Regions from separate parts of the Homo sapiens genome. Here region 2 is linked to region 1. The links are contacts of gene promoters, found by promoter capture Hi-C in blood cells and fetal thymus (Javierre and others, 2016). All regions are on one chromosome and are shown on one strand. The core of a region is centred on a gene start or on the middle of the fragment in contact, and the rest is flanking DNA. Distances in the headings are between cores, read along the strand shown. Region 1 holds the start of IL37 (interleukin 37). Region 2 has its middle 11 kb from the start of CHCHD5.

Region 1 (4,299 bases), core at 1,169-3,668:
GCCTCTCCCGTCACACCTCAGTAGACAATCATTTGGGTCAAAAGCCTCCTCCTATTGTCCCCCATGGGCAACACCCAAATGTGTTCCTCATGGAATACTCAGATGCCCTGTGCCTGGGTCATTTGTTCAGCCCAGCCTTAGAGAGCTGCTTCTCATCGGAGGCTTCTCTTCCACTTGGGAATGTTGGGAGGGAAGAGGTGCATTTTGAAGCATATGCAACCATCCAGTTGGCAAACAGGATGCTAAAGCCCCAAATCTGTAGGTGAGGACGATCCTTTTATCTACTACCTGATGTGCCTGGACACTGAAGCAAAGCTTCCTTTTCCCTTCCAGAATTTCTCTTGTCTAGTTATTTGTCCAGGGAAATTTGAAAGCTCACTTACTGTGCAAGTCAGCAGGAAACAACTGGGTCTGTGCACAGCACCTAGCAAAGTTCTGCTCTAGGAATTACACTTTGGCCCTGAGGTAGATTTCTACAAGAACCTTACCTTCTAAGCAGCACTGGGGTTCATCTTTTTCCCAGTCCTCAGAGCCCATTTTCACTCCTGAGTTCTCCCCCACAAAGGACATTTTCAACGTTGAGTTTATTACTCAACAGAAAATGGAATGAAGTCCAAGACCTAAGGAGATAGAAAGGGGACCAGTTATGGCATCTTCTCACCCCAGGACACCTTGCTGCATGTCTCTAGTGCTGAACAGACCACTGGCCTTGCTCTGTAGTTTGAAATGCTCGCTGCAACCAGAAAGGCACCAAGGGGCCAGACCATGCTCTCCTGTCTATCACGCCTTCAAAGCAGAATTTCCCAAACCTTGAGTCACAGTGCTAACACACGGGGTGCAATAGCATTTTTGTGGATCTTGGCATTTTACAAAAATAAAATAAAAAAGTTAAAAGTGCATTGCTCTAGTCTTGGGGCTGGCACACTATGGCCTTTGGCCAAATCCGGTCCCTGACTGTTTTTTTAAATAAAGTTTTATTGAAACACAGCCATGCTCTTGTTTACATATTGTCTCTGGCTGCTTCGAGGCTACAATAGCATGGTTAACTAGTTGAGAGATCATCTGGCAAGCAAAGCCTAAAATACTTACCATCTGACACCTTCTATAGAAGTTTGCTGAGTCTCTGCAGTAGCCTAATCTTTGCCTAACAAAAAGCAGTTGCTCTGCAACCTCTTTTCATGAAAACCTAAGCCACCAAATGTCCCAGGAGGCTCAATCCCTAATATCTTAGGGTAGGATTGACTCACGTGACTTGCTTCATTGGGAGGGGTTGGAGGAGATATATTTATATATATAAATTCTGCACACCCTATCTCAGTTGACCGAGAGCTTTCAACATCAGCCCAGGCCAACATAGGACAGAAGTGGAGCAAAAATTGGTATTCCCATCTTACCGATAAAAAATCAAAAGTTAAGTGATTTGTTCAGAATCATATCACTTCTAAGATTGCAGAGATAGGCAGTTTGTGTACAAATCCAATCCTTTGAGAAAGGTTTAGGAGTGAGACAAAGGGAACTAAATTGTTCATGCAAAAAATAAAAATGACAAGGAAGGGCTTCAGGACTCAACAATAAGGACGGTGAGCAGGAGCAGGTGGGTAGAGCTGATGGGTCTTTAGGAACAGGGATATCTGCTATTTGATTTTAACCTGTTTGTGGTTTGGCAGTATCCCTGAATACATGAAGCACAACTGCCTTTGTCATGTTGGGGTAAATCAAAGGACACAAAAAATTGGAGGCGCTTGACAGAGAATTTGGCAGCCAGAACATCAGAGCAAGAGATGTCTGGCAGAAACGTAGGTATCCAAAGACATATAAAGATACTGTGGTGCTGCTGAAGGACAGAAGGATGCTCACAGGCTGGAGGACCTGGGGCCATCCCTCGGGGGTACTCATGAAATCTGCTGCCTGTATTAAGATAAATGCAGGGAGCTTTCACAGAATTCCCTAAAGAAGCAGTGCATCTGGCCATCTGAAGTCCATCTCTTTGCACTCAAAATCTGTTCCCAAGGACCAATATTTTCTAGACTCTAAAGTCAGTCTTCTGAGCCTTCAGAGAAGGGACTAGCATTTCCAGGGTTGGTGGATTTCCTAAGCTAGTGTCTGCCTGGCCCTCCAGCAATGCCCTACTTGTTAGTGGAAGCCCTCCTGGGAGAGAGCAGGCTGCTACTGGGGCTGAGAGCAAGGTGTTCTGGGCAGGTCTCAGAGATCATATTTAGAAATTCAGATGTGCTTCCAGTGGGGATAAAAAGCAAGGGTCTAGATGGCCAGATGCTACTCTACTTCCCCATCCATCCTGTTGGCCTTGAAAGCCAGTGCAGGAGGACCACCTACCTGGGCCAGGGATCCTCGTGGTCTGTGGCTCTGTCTTGGACTCCTGGAGCTCTGTTTGCCTTCAGTTCTCAGGATCCTTTACTTGAAGGAGCTAGGTCTGGTACTCATTTGTAATCAACAGTTTGTGAGTGGTTATGCAAATACAACACAAGTATTCCTTTGGCCAATAATAAATAGCATCCTCAGTTATCAGTGATCACTCATTTCCTGCTATTTTCCATGCCAACGGTATAAACAAATTCCTGTGGGGGTAGTGCCACTCTGCTAAGGACTGTGCCACACCTATTCAACACATTTCAAGGTACTTGTGATAGATCAGGTGGCTTCCAGTCCAGTCCAATAATACAGGTATAGAAAACAGAGGAGAGTGAAGGAAAGAGGGGACACAGGGTTTAGATCAGCCAATGAGCCTGGGAGGTTCAAGGAAGCCCTTGTTCTCATGATGGTTCTTTGCCCCAATTCCAGAGTTCATGCAAGTGGAGTCCCCATGTCCCAGAGAAAAATGTCCTCTTTTCATGTTCCCTTCCAGGTACACTCCGGGATGCACTATACCTCTTCTATGTCCCCTCTTCTTCAAAGGTGACATGCAAAAGGACCTTCCTTGATCAAGCCCTCCAAGGACTAGCTTCCTTCTACAGCCCATTAGCTATTTATCTGCACTTCCTTGCATTTTTCCATCACATTTGCCCTTGTCAGTTACTGTGTATGGCTATGTTTTACAACACCACACACAGCTGCTCAGTATGAGGGGAAATCCACATAACCAATTAAGGTAATAGCTTCTGGACCACCACCAGCAGCATGTCAATAACACAGGAACAACAGGCCAGCACAATAGTCAACCACTGTGCTCTCACTGTGCCAGGTCTGGGCTCAGCCCATTTATTTATTTTTCTCCAACCAAATCCTTTGATGACCCTGGGGGTAAATACCATCCTTCCTGTTTTACAGACAAAAGGTGGTGCAGTTTAGAGAGGATGGACAATTTACCCAAGATCACATCCTTAATTACTGGAAGAACTATAACCCAGGCCTTTCTGAGCATGCTGCAGCCTCATCTCTTAAACTTCACCGAAGACTGTGGTCTCATCCTCTAGCCTTTCTTCACATACGCATTTATATAACATACAAATATAGGAGTGTGTCTGACAAATTATTTTGTAAGATACATTTCCTACTTAATGTATCTTGCCTTTTCTACTCAATATGATATCTCAAACATCGTTCCATTTCATCAATACTTTTCTACAATAGTGTATCTAATTACTGCAAGGTATTCCATTATTTGTCTAAAGACCTGGAAAAATGTTATTCCCTTGATGGCTAGAATACAAATCCCTGATTTCTGTTAAATTCCATAAGGAGACACATATCTTTAGAGAACTTCTTGATAAACCTCTTGGGATGGGATGAGATTGTGAAGGAAAAGAGGAAGTAAAAATTTTAAAAAGTCAAAACAAACACTAACTTATCTTCTAAGAAGGTGGTTGGGGTAACTGTAGGCACTTCTGTGGTGCTCACTTCTGGAATGAATGAGGATGTGAGTGTGGGGGCAGCAGGCCATTGCTCTCAGGACAGGGAAGATGGAGATGCAGGGAGGGTGCCATGTTGAGGCAGTTGCAATAGAGACTTGTAGAGATTCAACCAAGTGGTTCCGGAAAGGAAGGGAAATGAGAGAGAAGAGTTTGTCTTTAATAGGGGGTGCTACCTAGTGTAGTATGGAGTATTCATAAACTCTTGCCTTTATTGCCCCATGTAAAACCTCAATAAGTTCGATTATCTGTACCAATACTGATATACAAGGGACACTGTTTATAGGAGGTTGAAGCTCGAGAGAATAAGGGGCAGCTAACTTGTATGTCACATATGGACAGATCATAGTCTAACTAATCCTCAATTTTGAACATCTGAGTTATTTTCACTTTTACATTATTATATGTATGAGATATATATATATATACACAC
Region 2 (4,594 bases), core at 943-3,442, 320 kb after region 1:
AGGCCATTCCCACAACGTAGAGATGAAACACAAAATGCAAAGCTACAAGATGCATGCCATTTAAAACTTCCGCCCAGATGTGGCATATGTCACATCTTTTCACCTCTCATTGGCTAACACAAGTCTCACCAGCCAGCCCTGGCTATGGGTCAGAGAAGTACCCTTCTCCAACAGAGTATGTGATGAAGGTGGAGGTGGGAATGTTTAACATTGACACAGGGAAAGAGTTGATAACTCTTTATGTGATTATTATCTACTAAACGGTTCCACTTTTTTTTTTTTTAATTATTTTTGAGACAGAGTTTCGCTCTTGTCACCCAGGCTAGAGTACAATGGCATGATCTCGGCTCACTGCAACCTCTGCCTCCCGGGTTCAAGTGATTCTCCTGCCTCGGCCTCCCAAGTAGCTGGGATCACAGGCATGTGCCACGACGCCCAGCTAAGTTAATACAAACATGGTCATCATGTTGGACAGCCTGGTCTCGAAATCCCATTTATTTATTTATTTATTTATTTATTTATTTATTTATGAGATGGAGTCTCGTTCTGTAGCCCAGGCTGGAGTACAGTGGCATGATCTTGGCTCAATGCAACCTCTGCCTCCTGGGTTCAAGCGATTCTCCTGCCTCAGCCTCCCGAGTAGCTGGGATTATACGCATGTACCACCATGCCCAGCTAATTTTTGTATTTTTTAGTAGAGATAGGGTTTCACCATGTTGGCCAGGCTGGTCTCAAACTCCTGACCTCAAGTGATCCATTTGCCTCAGCCTCCCAAAGTGCTGGGATTACAGGCACGAGCCATCGCCCCCGGCACACAAGCCTTGCTTCAAGGTGATTCCACTTGGTATGTGATTCTCCTCCATAAACACAGGTTATAAAGTGTTCCCTCTATGAACTGAGATTCTCTCTCTGACTTTGATCTAATATAGACAAGTAGAATGAAAACATGGTCTGGCTGACACTTCCACTTCTGGCATCTCTCCAAACTGAGGTGGCCTTGATACCTAAGAAAGCCCCATGCTGATGGCAGCCCAAGGGGAGCAAGGTCAGGGAAGGCCTCTCCCTGTTAGGAAGGACATTCACATAATTTTCTTCCTGTGCACAGTGTGAGTCTCAAAAAAAAAAAAAAGACTCTCACTCTGTCGCCCACGCTGGAGTGCAGTGGCGTCGTGATCCCGGCTCACTGCAACCTCTGCCTCCTGGGCTCAAGCAATCCTGCTACCTCAGCCTCCCGCATAGCCGGGATTACAGGCACCTGCCACCATGCCCAGCTAATTTTTGTTTTTTTAGTACAGACGGGGTTTCACCATGTTGGCCAAGCTGGTCTTGAACTCCTGACCTTAAACAATCAGCCTACCTTGGCCTCCCAAAGTGCTGGGATTGCAGACGTAAGCCACCATGCCCAGCCTGAATTGATAAATTCTTGAGAGATGGGAAACGGCATTCTTTAATGAGAATTTTGGATATAGGGGACACTAATAGAAACTAACAAAGTGCTTTCATAAAATTCCCAGATGCTCAAAGAAAATTTAAAAGTCGAGTTAAGATCCATAAAATATGCATGCCCAGGCTGGGCGCGGTGGCTCACGCCTGTAATCCCAACATTTTGGGAGGCTGAGGCAGGTGGATCACGAGGTCAGGAGATTGAGACCATCCTGGCCAACATGGTGAAACCCCATCTGTACTAAAAATACAAAAATTAGCTGGGCGTGGTGGCGCGTGCCTGTGGTCCTAGCTACTCAGGAGGCTGAGGCAGGAGAATCGCTTGAACTCGGGAGGTGGAGGTTGCAGTGAGCTGAGATTGCGCCACTGCACTCCAGCCTGGGCAACAGAATGAGACTCCACCTCAAAAAAAAAAAAAAGTGCACGCCCACAACTGAGTAAAAGACAGGACTGTGATCAGGAAGTGCAGAAAATGTTAAATTTTAATGTCAGGGGTTAATTTAGAAAACATTGGCAAGTGTTTTCTCCTTTTATCATACCTTCCCCCTTTCTCATCTTTGCTGCAGATAAGGTCAAGTTCAGGGACTGCAGGACTTAAGGGGTAGGAGGTAATTCCTTCAAAACAAAAATGAAGGCAGGGTGTGGTGGCTCACGCCTGGAATCCCAGCACTTTGGGAGGCAGACGAGGGCAGATCACTTGAGGTTAGGAGTTCTAGACCAGCCTGGCCAACATATTGAAACCCCATCTCTACTAAAAATACAAAAAAATTAGCTGGGTGTGGCGGTGCATGTCTATAATCCCAGCTACTCAGGAGGTTGAGGCAGGAGTAATGCTTGAACCCGGGAGACGGTCCTCGCAGTGAGCCAAGACCATGCCATTGCACTCCAGCCTGGGCCATAGAGTGATTCTGTCTCAGAAAAAAAAAAAAAAAAAGATGAAAAGAAAACCCTTCTTTTCTCCTGCTTTGCATCTGCAATGGTGCAGGAATCCACAGATGTAACTAGACGTAACTGATGAATTGCAAGAAGTTAGAAGCCTGAAGAATGCAGCCGACATGAAAGGCTTTTATTCATACAGGTGATGTGATCTAAATGACTGACTGCATATTTAGAAAATAGGAAGAGTGTGAGGGACGGCAGCAAGGGTGAAGAATCGCCCCTCACCAGACAAGACTACAACAAAATTAACTGAGTCCTCATTTCAGCTTTAAAATAAACAAAAGGGGCTGGGCATGGTGGTTCACTCCTGTAATCCCAGCACTTTGGGAGGCCAAGGCAGGCAGATTTCTTGAGCTCAGGAGTTAGAGAACAGCCTGGACAATATGGTGAAACCCCATCTCTACTAAAAAGACAAAAATTAGCTGGGCATGCGTGCCTGTAGTCTCATCTACTCAGGAGGCTGAGGTGGGAGGATCATCTGAGCCCAGGAGGTGGAGGTGGCAGTGAGCCGAGATCACATCACTGCACTCCAGCCTGGTCAACAGAGTGAGACCCCATCTCATAAATAAATAAACAAACAAATAAATAAAATGAACAAAAGGGGAACTGTATACCCAAACTATAAAACAAAAATTAAAAAAAAATGAAAAGGGGAATTGTAAATCCAGGCTTAAGATGGAGTGAGGCCTTCTAAGAAAAAGAACAGCAACAACAATAACAATACCAAACCTTCTGCAGGGGCAGAGTGCAAAGAAATGGTGGTGAGAATGACAAGCTGGGGAAAATAATGCCTGCTGCAATTCCGGACACATTGGGACTTAGTGCTCCCTTTGAGACATCTATATGAAGGTCCATGGCAGCAGGTGGAAGCCCAAGGCAGAAGCCAGGGCTGGAGATAACCATCTGTGAACCAATGACTTATCTGATATTCTCTAGGAAGGAGATCACTGCACAGAGGAGAGAATAAGAAGAGGCCTGGTGTAAGCCTTGAAGAAAATCATTATGTCACGGCTGGGTGGGAGAAGGTGGTGGCATAGCCAGAGAGCTAGGAGGAAACCTGCAGAGTCCATGTAAAGATGAAAGAAGAGTAGAAATGTGGAGGGCCATTAAAAAATTATTCTGACAGTTGTTAAAACAGTATAGAAAATTGTACTCAAGACGACTGTCCCTGTCTCACTTCCCACTGCCCTAGTAATGCTTACTGGGATCAACCTCTAATTCTCTGTCCCAGGGTCTGTTTCTGGGGGAACCTGAGCTAAGACGGTGCATCATGAACCAAGGATTATGATTCAAGCACATATGGCACATTAACAAAAGCTGAGCATATGCCAAGCCATAAAGGCTCGACACATTTCAAAAGATTAAAATCATATAAAATGTTCCCAACCCAATTGCAATTAAGCAAGATACCTAAAAAAAAAAAACCTCCTTATGTTTAGAAATTAAGAAATACGACTCTAAACTTCTAAACAATCTGAGGTCAATGGAGAAATCAAAAGAGAGTAGAGAAGGGAAAATAAGGAACAAAAGGAGGATTGAAAGACAAAGACATCCAAGGAGCAGGACTACTATAGGCAGAGATGGCAAGAAGGAAACGTGACTATTGGCTAAGTTACAACAATGCATTCATGGGTTTTTGTTGTTATTATAGTTATTTTATCTTCTATTTTGAAGAATGATTTGTTATTTCTTCACAGTTATGGGACAAGTCAAATTATATATCTTGAAAAAAAAAAAAACAAAGTCACGCTTTGTGGCAAATTTAAGTGTATTAGAAAAGAAAGCCGGACACGGTGGCTCACGCCTGTAATCCCAGCATTTTGAGAGGCTGAGGCGGGTGGATCATGAGGTCAGGAGATCGAGACCATCCTGGCTAACATGGTGAAACCCCGTCTCTACTAAAAATACAAAAAATTAGCCGGGCGTGGTGGCGGGCGCCTGTAATCCCAGCTACTCGGGAGGCTGAGGCAGGAGAACGGCATGAACCCGGGAGGCAGAGGTTACAGTGAGCCAAGATCACGCCACTGCACTCTAGCCTGGGCAACAGAGCACAACTCTGTCTCAAAAAAAACAAAAAAACAAAAACAAAAAAAGAAAAAAGGCTGAAAACCAGTGAGCTAAACATTCATTTCAAAAAGGTAGAAACAGACAATTAAATCTAAAGAAAGAAGAAAATAAGAGAACTAGCTGGACGTGGTGGCTCACGCCTGTA

What was found. The method cuts DNA at HindIII sites, captures the fragments that hold promoters and counts their contacts. A CHiCAGO score of 5 or more calls a contact.
Region 2: a contact is called between a fragment that was not itself captured here and the fragment with the promoter of IL37 in region 1, in 5 of 17 cell types (M2 macrophages, M0 macrophages, M1 macrophages and 2 more). The highest score is 9.6, in M2 macrophages.

What each region holds. Positions count from the first base shown.
Region 1 is chr2:112,909,284-112,913,582 of GRCh38, reverse strand. It overlaps IL37 (interleukin 37), which reads right to left and starts at 2,418. Exons shown (of 6, transcript NM_014439.4): 1 at 2,335-2,418; 2 at 489-620. The coding sequence starts at 570. The HindIII fragment of the contact is 4,653 bases long and covers 318-4,299 here.
Region 2 is chr2:112,592,989-112,597,582 of GRCh38, reverse strand. No RefSeq gene overlaps it. Among named protein-coding and RNA genes, the nearest start is that of CHCHD5, 11 kb to the right of the region's middle. The HindIII fragment of the contact is 7,050 bases long and covers 1-4,594 here.